4 separate regions of the Homo sapiens genome follow, and all the other regions are linked to region 1. Evidence: promoter capture Hi-C in human tissues and cell types (Jung and others, 2019). All regions are on one chromosome and are shown on one strand. The core of a region is centred on a gene start or on the middle of the fragment in contact, and the rest is flanking DNA. Distances in the headings are between cores, read along the strand shown.

Region 1 (3,108 bases), core at 262-2,761:
TTACTGCTTCTTTATTTAAAAAAAAAAAGGAAATAAAGCAAGCAATACATAGCATTCAATTCCCTTGATAAGTTAAAATCATTTCCCCCTTCTATCCCCAAATGAACTTTATTCTATTCCATTTAGCCAAAGGTACACAGCCAACACATCTTTGTGTTATACTGTGGCAAATCAGGGTTTAGATACCAATGCAACTATTATCAATGGCTCAGAACCAAACATTGTTAACAAAACACACTGAGTGGATCCTCCCTCTGCGTGTGTGTCTACATGTGCCCATTCATAACATGACCCTCCTACACACACAGAAACTCAATTTCTACTGAATTACAAAACATCTTCACATTATTAGAAGTGTATAATAAAACTGTCCTCTTTAATGTTCAAAGAAAGAATAATTTCTAAAGCGATGAGAGAGAAGAGTTAATACCAGGATTGCTGCTACCCATCAACTTTAATTCAAAGCAAAGTACAACTCAATGTCATTTTTACCTCTACTGTAGCCTCGACGGATACAAAATTAACTTCGCTGTAGAATAAAGTATCCTGGCATCCCAATGGATTATTTACTTCTCCGATTTGACAGAACATATACGTGAGTCTTTTGTCCCTCCCACAGCATCCCAGGGTGTCAACATCATCTCTGCCACAGCAAATGACGAGCAAATCCCTCAGATCATTACTTCAGCACCCTAAGTACAAGAAAGTCGCGGCCTTCACTGTCGTTACAACACAGCAAACAGATTCAGTAGTCCCATGTTCCTTTCCATGATAGTTGGGGAGGCGGGGTGGGAAATAAGCGCTCAGATTTCCTAGGAATCCTTCGTGTTCGGTGCTGGTACCAGAAGTGGCATGGGTACAAGTGATATGTGGGTCACCCACAGAGAGAGACGCAGAACGAAGCTTCGTGACCCTCCAAGTTCAGTGAAGACACCCAAAGCCTGGGGCAAAACGAGGCGGCAGCCTTCGGGGAAATCGGGCAGAACCAGAACGATCTCCGAGATGGAGAGTGACGGGGTCTGGCACGAGCCCCGGGCTTGCAGCGAACTGAAAGTCCCCGGTACCCCTCCCCTCCTCAGCAGGCTCGGTCACTCGGCGAGGGGTGCGGCCGGAGGAGGGGGTCGAGACTGGGGGAGGGCGGCGCCCTGGGGGGTCGGGGGGTGTGTCCTACCTGGGCCGTGGCGGACGCAGGGGTTTCTGGAGGAGGGCTCTGGTCCAGCTCAGGACCGGGACCGGCGGGGGTTAACCCTCGGCAGGCGGGACCGCCACTGCCTGCCCATCCCCCACCGCCGACTGCGGCGGGACCCGAGCGCGGCTTCCAGGGCCGGCCGGCTGGGTAGTCCCCTGGGGTACCGTCCGCGTTTACTGGCGGCGGCGGCGGCGGCTGCTGCTGCTGTTACTGCTGCTGCCGGCTCCCCCAAGCCGCTGCTCTTGTGCCAGCACCTGCTCCCCCTCCTGCCGCCGCCGCCGCCTCGTCCCCACCGCTCCCATCGCCGCTGCGGCGACTACTGCAGAGCCCGCTGACCCGACCCGACGTTATTCTCCCCCCTCGTAACCCGACACAGCCTAGCCCACCTGCCCTGCCAGCGCGCACGCCCACCTCTCCGCTACAGGTGCTGATTGGAGAGTGCGTTCCGAACTCGCAGCGTCGGTTGGCTAGTCCCATTGCCTATCACGAAGGGGGCGGAGAGTCGGGCAGAAACCGTCTCCGCCCCCCACCGGAGAATTGCCGCTATCTTCAGGTTTGCCTGAGAGGGCGAGTTACCGGGAAAGGAGCATCACAATGGCAGCGCGCATGCGCCTAGGAATTCTGGGCCTCGTAGTTCCAGCCATAGCCGCAACTCCCCGCCTGTCCCGAGGAGAGAAGTAGGGCTTCCGAGACAAGTAGTTTGCGCACATAGGTGTTCTCCTAGCGTGACAGTTAAATTGGTTATAGAGGGATGGTTGGGACCCCATGGTTGGGCTTTTCGGAATAAAATCGGAAATGCTTTGTCACGATACGAAATTACACACTGAGGCAGTCGCGATGAAGGGCCCAAATCGTGAGGCCCTGCAAGCCTTAAGGATCCATCCTCTTCCTCAGCATCAGCGCTGACAGCATCCCGCAAATTGGCGCCGTCCCCAGAACCGCCTAACGTGAAGCTAATCATCTTTGGGGGACTGGGGAAGGGCCTTAGGTGTGACGAGGAAAGGAGATGGGCACTTCCATAAACGAATGTCAACTTGGAGACCGGAGTGTCCTTACGGTTTCACAACCCAAGAACAAGATTTCATTCCCTTTGTGAAACACCACCAGCTAAAGACTCAATGGCCAGCCCCGGTGCACACCAGTATGCGATGCTGAGCAAGTGTATGCGGGAGGTGCTCAAAGACTTTCAAAGAAAAGCGAGGAGGGCGGAGCAAGGACGCTGTGCAGGATGCGTTTCTATTTAGTGTTGTGTCAGTCGCTTTGGCGAAGGAAAACCTTAAGATTAAGCACCTCTCCCATCTTTGCCCACCAGTGTACAGTAGAGAAAACACATGAAAAACGCTAAACAGCTTTCCTAAGGCTATAAACTAATCAGTGGCAAAACCAAAACTCAGGTCTCTCATACGCCCCACATCTAATGTCCTTTCTACTTAAGAATCACAATGATCCCCAGGGTTCTGCCATGAATGGAAAGAATGTAATGAATTATGAACTTCATTTTTACTTTAAATCCTTTTCTTCACTCAAGTGACATTGTCATTAAAGCTGATTAAGAATATAGAAAGGTAAATGACTAATCCTATATTCAATCTTGGAACTGTTCCTATAGAATCTGTTTCTTCTTGCTCAGGAAGTGCCACAGCCTCTTGCCATTCTTTTTAAAAACAGCAGGCATCTCTACTCTCTGTCATGTCCAGATCCTTGGATTGAAAGCAGGACAAAATGTACATTAAAGGCAAGTGATGATGCAGCTCATCTTGTTCTATGCAAACATAAAGATGTTGCCAAATTGTTTTTTATTTCTACTGATTAAAACCACACGTTACTTTTTCTATTACTATGTCTAATAGAGTACTTCATTCATTTCAGAGTATTGACCAATCACATAATTTGAATAAGAAAACATTAGGGTTTCTGTA
Region 2 (3,108 bases), core at 215-2,714, 400 kb before region 1:
TTGTCAATCAGAGTTTAGCAGATTACTTTAAGCAAACAAGTTAAAATGTACAGATTATTTGATACAAACTCTTAGCTATGTTTTACAAACATAATTGTACCTTTCTCTTGTGTTCCATGTACCTTCTTGGAAGAGTACAGAAGAGAGGAAGTAGATGAATTTTCTTGAGATCAGATGTTAGGAGAACAAGGAGAAAGAAGTCTCCCCTAAAATCTTAGAGGAAGATCAGCTCTAAGTCACGTGTTGATAAATAGGAAGAGCACTGAATTAGACCTAAGATGGTCTAATATCATAGAAAGTGGGAAATGCAGCTACAGAGTATTAATTTTATGTCTCTTTGTGTATCCCAGCCAAGCATAGGCAAGCTTTTCTTGAAGACTGGTGGGAAACAAGGTAGGGTATGGTCCTGAATCAGCATTCTTCAGCCTCTAACCTCAGTAGAACCCTTTCTCAGTGGATCAAGAGAAGGCATTACTTTTTTAGAGATGGCCTCTCCCTCTGTCTCCCGGGCTTGAATGCAGTGGTGCCACCATAGCTCACTGTAGCCTCAAACATCTGGGCTCAAGCAATCCACCCACATCAGCCTCCCAAGTAGCTAGGATTACAGGTGTGTGCCACCATGCCCAGCTAATTTTTGAAATTTTTTGTAGAGACAGGGGTCTTGCTATGTTGCCCAGGCTTGTATCAAACTCCTGGCCTCAAGAAATCCTCCCACTTCAGCCTCCCAAAGCACTGGGATTACAGGCTTAAGCCACTGCACCCAACTGGCACTTCTTTCTTTTTTTTTTTCTGGCACTTCTTGAGAGATGGAATCAAGGGGCTGCTGTAACAAAACAGTTCCCTTAAGAGAAGAAAGTATTATCTCAGTTAAAGATGTCTGATTGTAATTGTCTTTCTTCCACCTATTTCTTTCTTACACCATTGAGACCTTGGCCAGTATGATATCTCTTATCCTCAGCTCTGTTCCTATCATTCTTGCCTGTGTCTTGATCTTTCTAATCTGCTAGTCTGTGTTTCAGTTAGGCTCGTCACATGAATAACCATAACATGAGCTTCTTAAAGGTAGACATGAGATCTTAGTCCTATGTGTAAGGCCTAGTCTTCATACCAGCAGTAGCAGTAACAACCCAGGTCAGGTCCAGAGTTCCTTATTTGCCATTTGGAAATACTTTTTCTTTTCTTTCTCTTTTTTTTTTTTTTTTTTCTCGAGACAGGGTCTCGCTCTGTTACCCAGGCTGGAGTGCAGTGGCAGTCATGGCTCACTGCAGCCTCAACCTATCCTCCAGCGTCAGCCTCCTGAGTAGCTGGGATTACAGGCACATGCCACCACACCCAGCTAATTTTGTATCTTTTGTAGAGACAAGGTTTCACCATGTTGGCCAGGCTGGTCTTGAACCCTTGGGCTCAGGCAGTCTACCCACCTTGGCCTCCAGAAGTGCTGGGATTGCAGGCATGAGCCATTAAGCCCTGCTGGCCATTCAGAAATCTAAAAAACTCCTAAAGTTTTGTTTTATTTTTGCTGTAATGGTGCCACAACTCATTAGGGTATAAAATGTAACCTGAACTGAAGCTATGTTTAGTCTTTATTACTTGCTGTAGATATTAATTGGTTTCACTACAGAAATACTCTTTTTGAGTCAGGGTCTCACTCTGTCACCCAGGTTGGAGTACAGTGGTATGATCTTGGCTCACTGCAGCCTCGACCTCCTAGGTTCAAGTGATCCCCCCACCTCAGCCTCATGAGTAGCTGGGACTACAGGTGCATGTCACCATGCCTGGTTTGTTTTTAAAAACTTTTGTTTCTTCTTCTTTTTTTTTTTTTTTTTGAGACGGAGTCTCACTCTGTTGCCCAGGCTAGAGTGCAGTGATGCAGTCTCAGTTCACTGCAACCTCTGCCTCCTAGGTTCAACCGATTCTCCTGCCTCAGCCTCCCAAATAGCTGGGATTACTGGTGCCTGCCACCACGCCCAGCTAATTTTTGTATTTTTAGTAGAGATGGGGGTTCACCATGTTGGCCAGGCTGGTCTTGAACTCCTGACCTCAGGTGATCCGCCTGCCTCGGCCTCCCAAAGTGCTGGGATTACAAGCATGAGCCACCATGCCTGACCCTGTTTCTTTTCTTTTCTTTTTCTTTTTTTTTTTTGAGACAGAGTTTTACGTTGTCACCCAGACTGGAGTGCAGTGGTACAATCTCGGCTCACTGCAACCTTCGCTTCCTGGGTTCAATCGATTCTCATGCCTCAACCACCCAAGTAGCTGGGATTAGAGGCATGCACCAACACCTTGCTAACTAATGTATTTTTAGTAGAGACGGGGTTTTGCCATGTTGGCCAGGATGGTCTTGAACTCCTGACCTCAAGTGATCCACCCACCTCGGCCTCCCAACGTGCTGGGGTTACAGGCATGAGCCACCGTACCTGGACTTTAAAAAGTTTTTGTAGAGATGAGTTCTCACTATGTTGCTCAGGCTGGTCTCAAACTCCTAAGCTCAAGCAATCCTCCCACATTGGCCTCCCAAAGTGCTGGTATTACAGAAATGAGCCACCACACGCAACGTCACTACAGAAATATTAATGTATTTAATTATGTGGTACTGTCCAAAACATCTTGCCCCCAATGGATTGGGGTAACAGTTGTGGGCCTGTGCATTAATTTAAGGTACTATTCTGAACATGTTAATTTAATCCTTAAACAGTAGCCTTAATATGAGATAGATGTTTTTTATTATTATCATTTTACATCCAGGCTACACTATGTAGTGGAAGAGCTGGGATTCAAAACCAGGCAGAACCCCCTTGCTTTTTTTTTTTTTTTTTTTTTTTTGAGACAGAGTCTTGCTGTATCACCAGGCTGGAGTACAGTGGTGTGATCTCAGCTCACTGCAACCCCTGCCTCCCAGGTTCAAGTGATTCTGCTGCCTCAGCCTCCCGAGTAGCTGGGATTACAGGCGTGCACCACCACGCCTGGCTAATTTTTGTATTTTTAGTAGAGATGAGGTTTCACCATGTTGGTCAGGCTGGTCTCGAACTCCTGACCACGTGATCCATCCACCTCGGCCTCCCAAAGTGCTGGGATTACAGGCGTGAGCCACCGCGCACAGCCCACAAA
Region 3 (3,108 bases), core at 281-2,780, 320 kb before region 1:
TATTCTAATGGTAGGGGCCATGGACTGCAACACAATGGTCCTAGCATAACAGGTAATGTGCCACTAGCAGAATCTCAAGGAAAGATCTTGTTCTTTAGATCTAACCTGTCCCTGGCTCTGTAGTCAACTGGGATGAGGAAATTGCCCTATTGCCATCTAGTAGTATGGGGAAGTATTCCATACCTGTTGTTATGCGTTCTCTAATGTGACCAGGTGTGATTAGATACTGCTGCCATAAAAGCAGCATTTCTGTTTGGGAAACCCCAACCCATTACAAAATGATAACAAGTGATCTGTTATCTGCTGCCTCAGAAAGTACGCAGGATGAGCTGGAGAGATGGAGTGTGACCTTCCCTTCTTTTATGCCTTACTTTTCTTGTATCTGCTGAACTTGGAGTGTGAATGAAGGTTTTGGGGAAGGTGGAAGAATGACTGAAACTGAGGAGGGACCTTTGAGGGGCTAGAGGAGAGGGAAACATGAGGAACAAACTAAGGTGAGGAGGAATTTGAGAGCTCACAGAGGGGTGGGCACTGTTAGGATTGTGTCACTTTTTTACAGCAGGTATCTCCATTTTAGGGATAGGAACAGGCTCAGATTTGTTGCATTATTGCTTAAGGTCATACAACCAAGTGATGGACGCAGCAATCAAACCTTGACTATGTGACTCCATGGTCCAAGCTCTCGCACACTATACCACATACAACTCTATTCCTGTATTTCCAGTGCTGCACATCTTCCATTATCAATCAATGGCTATTAGATTAATTATTCAATTAAAGGTTCAATGTATGACTGACAAGATAGGACTCTGCCTTCTTGAATTTTGCTGCCTGTTTTGGGAAGGCCTCATAATTTGCCTAAGTTAAAGAACCACAGATGCCAATCAGTTTCTTTGTGCATCCCCTTTTTCTGATGCATGTATGTGCTAGGGGAGCTGGGGAGTATGTGGATTCAAAGCAGCATTTTCTCATGAATATTTGCAGAGCTTTGTACATTCCATCACTAGTGCTGGTTTTTTTCCAACCAAGATGGAGACAGAAGTCGAAGGGAGAGAAGTTTATAAGAAAAAGCCTTTTTGTGCAGTAATCAGATGGGGCTCTGCAGAGCTGAGTGGAAGATGGGAGGGGTTACCATGAGTGTTTCAGTATGTCCCTCTGCCAGCAGCACAGCTGTTTGGTTCCATAAGCATGTCTGTGAGCTGGATTTTAATCTAACTTGTTTTTTCCGTCTTTAGAAACTTGACTGTGAATCTTTAAAGAGTAATTTTCAGACTCGTAGAAACATCTGAAAGACAGAGATTCTTGACAATGTTTGCTGCTCGTGGCACATGACTATGCAAAAATGAACAGTGGAAACTAGAGAAATCTTTTAAAATGCCAAAGCTTATGTGGATTTTTCCCCCTGTAAGACAAGGGTAATGGAAATTCCTTGTGGTAGCTAGAGCCCTTGAGATCCAGGCTGGAGAGAGAGGTTATCTGTAGGGGAGACATGCCCAAAGCTTGATAGTCATTTGCAGATGACCAAGGGCAGCCTAAGCATAAATGGAGAGTTCCTAAGACAGTTGTCCTTGATGTTACCCCATTTTTCTCTTGCTTGGATCTGCAATGCTGAAAATTCCTTATACTCACCCTTTGCACCTTAAACTTGGGTTTGTCCTGGGTTTAAAGCGATTGTCAATTAATTGCTTGAGGAAGAGAAGTATGATGATGGTGATGATTACTTTGAGAGTCTTTGGACAAAATGATTTGCAAAATCTTCTAAACGAGAGGATATAAAATGAACAGCAGCCCTTTGAGCAAAAGATCTGTATGTCCACCACAGTAGACAGGCATGCACAGGCAGACTGCTAACAGGTGCTAAATTTTCTTCCCACATACTTGCACAGTAAGCCTGTGTCCAAGTACCCTCTTAACCCCATTTCTGTAGTCCTCTGTTTGGGGGAGCCAGTGTAGCTGACCAACAAAAGGCTCCTTCTAAATACAACATTCAGAAAAGGGTTCAGAGAAAGTTTTGGGAAAAAATGGTTTCTATTTCTGTGCTCAGCAGAAAGCAGATAACGGCATAAATGAAAATGTCAGCTAATTGATTAGCTTATTAAAATATTTTGCTTAAAGGCAATGTAAGATAATTGCAAAATATTCGAACAGTACAGAAGACTATAATGGTAAAACTAGAAAAGCCTTCCCTTTCTATACCTCCCACTCATCTTATTCTCTAAACGTAACCATTGTTTACAATTCTTTTGGTATCCTTCTAGATAGCATCTATTTCTTATTTTTCAAAGGAGTTAGCATATTAAGGAAATTGATTCATCTGTCATAGATACTACAAACATTTTCCCTGTTTATACTTTTGTTTTGATTCTGTTTACGATTGTGTGTGTGTGTATATATATTTTGTTTGTTTGAGACAAGGTCTCGTTCTGTTTCTCAGCCTGGAGTGTAGTGTCGTGATCATGGCTCACTTTAGCCTCAACTTCCCCAGCCTAAGCAGTCCTCTTACCTCAGTCTCCCATGTAGCTGGGACCTTAAGTGTGTACTACTACTCTTGGATAATTTTGTAATGCCAAGCTGGTCTTGAACTCCTGGGCTCCACCTTGGCCTCCCAAAGTATTGGGATTATAGGCATAAGCCACCGCACCTGGTGCATGCATATATATGTATATTTATTTTTTTTTTGAGATGGATTCTCGCTGTGTCACCCAGGCTGGAGTGCAGTGGTGCGGTCTCAGCTCACTGCAACCTCTGCCTCCTGTGTTCAAGCGATTCTCGTGCCCCAGCCTCCCAGGTAGCTGGGATTACAGGTGCCTGCCACCATGCCTGGCTAATTTTTGTTTGTTTGTTTTTTTAAATAGAGTCTCGCTCTGTTGCCCAGACTGGAGCACAGTGGCACGATCTCGGCTCACTGCAGCCTCCACCTCCTGAGTTCAAGCAATTCTCCGCCTCAGCCTCCCAACTAGCTGGGACTACAGGCACCTGCCACCATGCCCAGCTAATTTTTGTATTTTTTAGTAGAGACAGAGTTTCACCATGTTGGCCAGGCTGGTCTCGAACTCCTGACCTCAGGTGATCTGCCCGACTTAGCCTCCCAAAATGCTGGGATTTCAG
Region 4 (3,108 bases), core at 384-2,883, 300 kb before region 1:
TATTCCCAGCTACTCCAGAGGCTGAGGCAGGAGGGTTGTTTGAGCCTGGGAGGTCAAGGCTGCAGTGAGCTGTGATCACACCACTTCATTCCAGTCTGGGTAACAGAGTGAGACCTGTCTCAAAAAAAAAAAATTTTCAGGAAATTAAAGTGTTAATTGCTGCCATCTAATCCTTAGACTTCATTCAGGATTCACTGATTGTCCTAGTAAGATCCTTACAGCAAAAAGATTAAGTTCAGCATCACTTGTTGCATTTAGTTATCTTAACTCTAGTCTAATTCAGTCTGGAATAGGTCCTCAGTTTTTCCCTGATGTTCATGATCTTAACACTTACGAAGATTACAGGCCAATTATTTTGTAGAATGTCCCTTTTATTTTATTTTATTTTATTTTATTTTATTTTATTTTATTTTGGAGACAGAGTTTCCCTGTGTCGCCCAGGCTGGAGTGCAGTGGCACAATCTTGGCTCACTGCAACCTCCACCTCCAAGGTTCCAGCAGTTCTCCTGCCTCAGCTTCCTGTGTAGCTGGGATTATAGGTGCCTGCCACCATGCCTGGTTAATTTTGTATTTTTAGTAGAGATGGGGTTTCACCATGTTGGCCAGTCTGGTCTCGAACTCCTGACCTCAAGTGATCCACCCGCCTCAGCCTCCCAAAGTGCTGGGATTATAGGGGTGAGCCACCACCTGGTATACATGTCCCTTAATTTGGATTGTCCAGTGTCTCCTCATGATTACATTCAGATTATGTATCCTTGATACCAGTATCACTGAATTTACTTTGATTGCTTGATTAAGGTGGTGTCTGCCAGATTTTTTTCACTGTAAAGTTACTCTTTCTCTTCTTTGTAATTAATAAATATTTTGTATTTAATAAATATTTTGTAGGAAGTACTTTGAAACTATGTATTCCGGCCCTCATCAGACTTTCAAATTATTTATATCTGTGATCCATGGTTATATTATATATTATATCTTTGATTCATGGTTTCTCATTTTATACAGTGGATTACAACCTGTTACTATCATTGCTTATTGTGTTAAAAGAAAAATTTTAGACAAATTTAACAGAGCTTAATTGAGCAAAGAAGAATTTACAAATAAGGCAGCCCCTAGAACTACGATAGGTTCAGATACAGCCTGAGGCTGCCACATGGTTGGATAACACTTTTGGACAGAAAAAGGAAAGTGACATACAGAAAACAGAGGGATGAGGTACAGAAACAGCTGGATTGGTTACAGCTCATTTTCTTCATTTGAACACAGTTTGAACAGTTGGCTGTCTGTGATTGGTTGAAACTTGGCTACTTGTTACAAAAGTAGGTTACAGTCTGTTTATACATTTAGTTAGGTTATAATCACTATGTATGGAGAAACCCTTAGGACAAACTTAAAATCTGCAAGGAGACAGCTTTAGGCTAAACTTAACAATTGTGATGCTCATTTTGTTCCTGTTAGTGGAAAATGATATTTAGAAACCAAGTTCTGGGTGCTAGATGTGATCATTTCTGTTGGGGTATCACTGTTTTCAGGTCCTCTTGGTAAAGTTAGACAAAGCTAGGGAATATATATTTGCATATACATTTTCATATATATACACATACATTTATCTATTTCTTTTTCAATCTATATTGAAGCCTATGAATTCTCACTGATTCTGATCTAATACCATACAATTCATTCTTTTTTGTTTCCTTGACTCTACATTAAAGGAAAATAATTCATTCTTGCTTTCTTCCTCTCCTAATTTATAACTCCTTTATCTGATGATGAGGCTGGCTGTGGTGGTGTGCAACTGTAGTCCTAGCTACTTGGAGGCCACGGCAACTCCTTGAGCCCAGGAATTCAAAGCTGTAGTGGGCTGTGATTGTACCACTGCACTCCAGCCTGGGAGACAGAGTGAGACCCTTAAAAACAAAAAACAAAGAAAAAGAATAATGAAAAATGAAAGCCAAGTTTCTCATTATCACCTGTAGCTCGCTCTCTCTCTCCCTCTCTCTCTCTCTCTCTGTCTCTCTCTTTTTTTAGAGACAGGGTCTCACTTTGTTGCTTACCCTGGAGCGCAGCTGCATGATCATAGCTGATTGCAACCTTGAACTCCTGGGCTCAAGTGATCCTCCCACCTCCGACTCTTGATTAGCTGGGACTTCAGGCATGAGCCACTGCCCAGCGGATGTCTCTCCGTTTTGGATCCATACTTCCTTGTTCAAATAAAACTAACTTGAAGGAAGGGGTGGGGCAGAGAGATTTGTTTGACTGTCTCTGTGGTTACTTGCCTGGGTATCTGTTGTTCCTGAGGTGGGAGATCTTTAGTTGTAACTATGAACTTTCCAAGGTTGACAGTGAGGTATTAAGAGATGACAAATGGAAGTACAAAGATTTTTCAGAGGGAGTCATGTGACATGGTTGTTCTCCTGTTTTGTCCAGAGCTCTGATGTTCTGAAGGATTGAAATGAAAAGGATACATTTTATATTTTATGGTGATACAGTCCTGGGGTCAACCTCACTGAAGAGAGGCCTTTATCTGGGGACATTATGTGGGGCTTCAAGGTAGGGACCTCTCTCAAAGTGTGCTTTGAAATAAGTAAGTATAGCTTAAGATGCAGATCAGGGCCAGGCGTGGTAGCTCACGCCTGTAATCCCAGCACTTTGGGAGGCGGAAGCAGGCAGATCACCTGAGGTCGGGAGTTTGAAACCAGCCAGACCAACATGGAGAATCCCCACCTCTACTAAAAATACAAAAATTAGCTGGGTGTGGTGGTGCATGCCTGTAATCCCAGCTACCTGGGAGGCTGAGGCAGGAGAATTGCTTGAACCTGGGAGGCGGAGGTTGCAGTGAGCTGAGATTGTGCCATTGCACTCCAGCCTGGGCAACAAGAGCGAAACTCTGTCTCAAAAAAAAAAAGATGCCGATCAAATGCCAACACTGCTATGAATATTTCCCTCACTACCTCAGGCCACAGTCATTTTCCTTTCTCCAAATATAATATTTATGTCTCCTCTTTATTCATATTCTACTATGTACTGGTATTGAACTGTTTACTGACTCTATGGTCTATCTCTCCAACTATATGATAAGTTTGTTGTGGACTGAAGACAGTGTTTGAA

Evidence for each region. The method cuts DNA at HindIII sites, captures the fragments that hold promoters and counts their contacts. A contact is called where the count stands out against the background at its distance.
Region 2: a contact is called between a fragment that was not itself captured here and the fragment with the promoter of TTBK2 in region 1, in 1 of the 25 tissues and cell types used here (IMR-90 fibroblasts).
Region 3: a fragment that was not itself captured here is called in contact with the fragment with the promoter of TTBK2 in region 1 in 2 of the 25 tissues and cell types used here (IMR-90 fibroblasts and stomach).
Region 4: a contact is called between a fragment that was not itself captured here and the fragment with the promoter of TTBK2 in region 1, in 2 of the 25 tissues and cell types used here (adrenal gland and mesenchymal stem cells).

Annotation. Positions count from the first base shown.
Region 1 is chr15:42,919,267-42,922,374 of GRCh38, forward strand. It overlaps TTBK2 (tau tubulin kinase 2), which reads right to left and starts at 1,512. Exons shown (of 15, transcript NM_173500.4): 1 at 1,172-1,512. RefSeq lists enhancers at 830-1,330, 1,331-1,831, 2,034-2,133 and a silencer at 1,104-1,513. The HindIII fragment of the contact is 10,494 bases long and covers 386-3,108 here.
Region 2 is chr15:42,517,247-42,520,354 of GRCh38, forward strand. The region is part of intron 5 of SNAP23 (synaptosome associated protein 23); the gene reads left to right. Among named protein-coding and RNA genes, the nearest start is that of SNAP23, 23 kb to the left of the region's middle. RefSeq lists a silencer at 892-1,092. The HindIII fragment of the contact is 6,914 bases long and covers 1-3,108 here.
Region 3 is chr15:42,594,707-42,597,814 of GRCh38, forward strand. All of the region lies in intron 3 of STARD9 (StAR related lipid transfer domain containing 9), which reads left to right. Among named protein-coding and RNA genes, the nearest start is that of STARD9, 21 kb to the left of the region's middle. The HindIII fragment of the contact is 3,561 bases long and covers 1-3,108 here.
Region 4 is chr15:42,620,359-42,623,466 of GRCh38, forward strand. The region is part of intron 3 of STARD9 (StAR related lipid transfer domain containing 9); the gene reads left to right. Among named protein-coding and RNA genes, the nearest start is that of STARD9, 46 kb to the left of the region's middle. RefSeq lists an enhancer at 1-305. The HindIII fragment of the contact is 4,446 bases long and covers 1-3,108 here.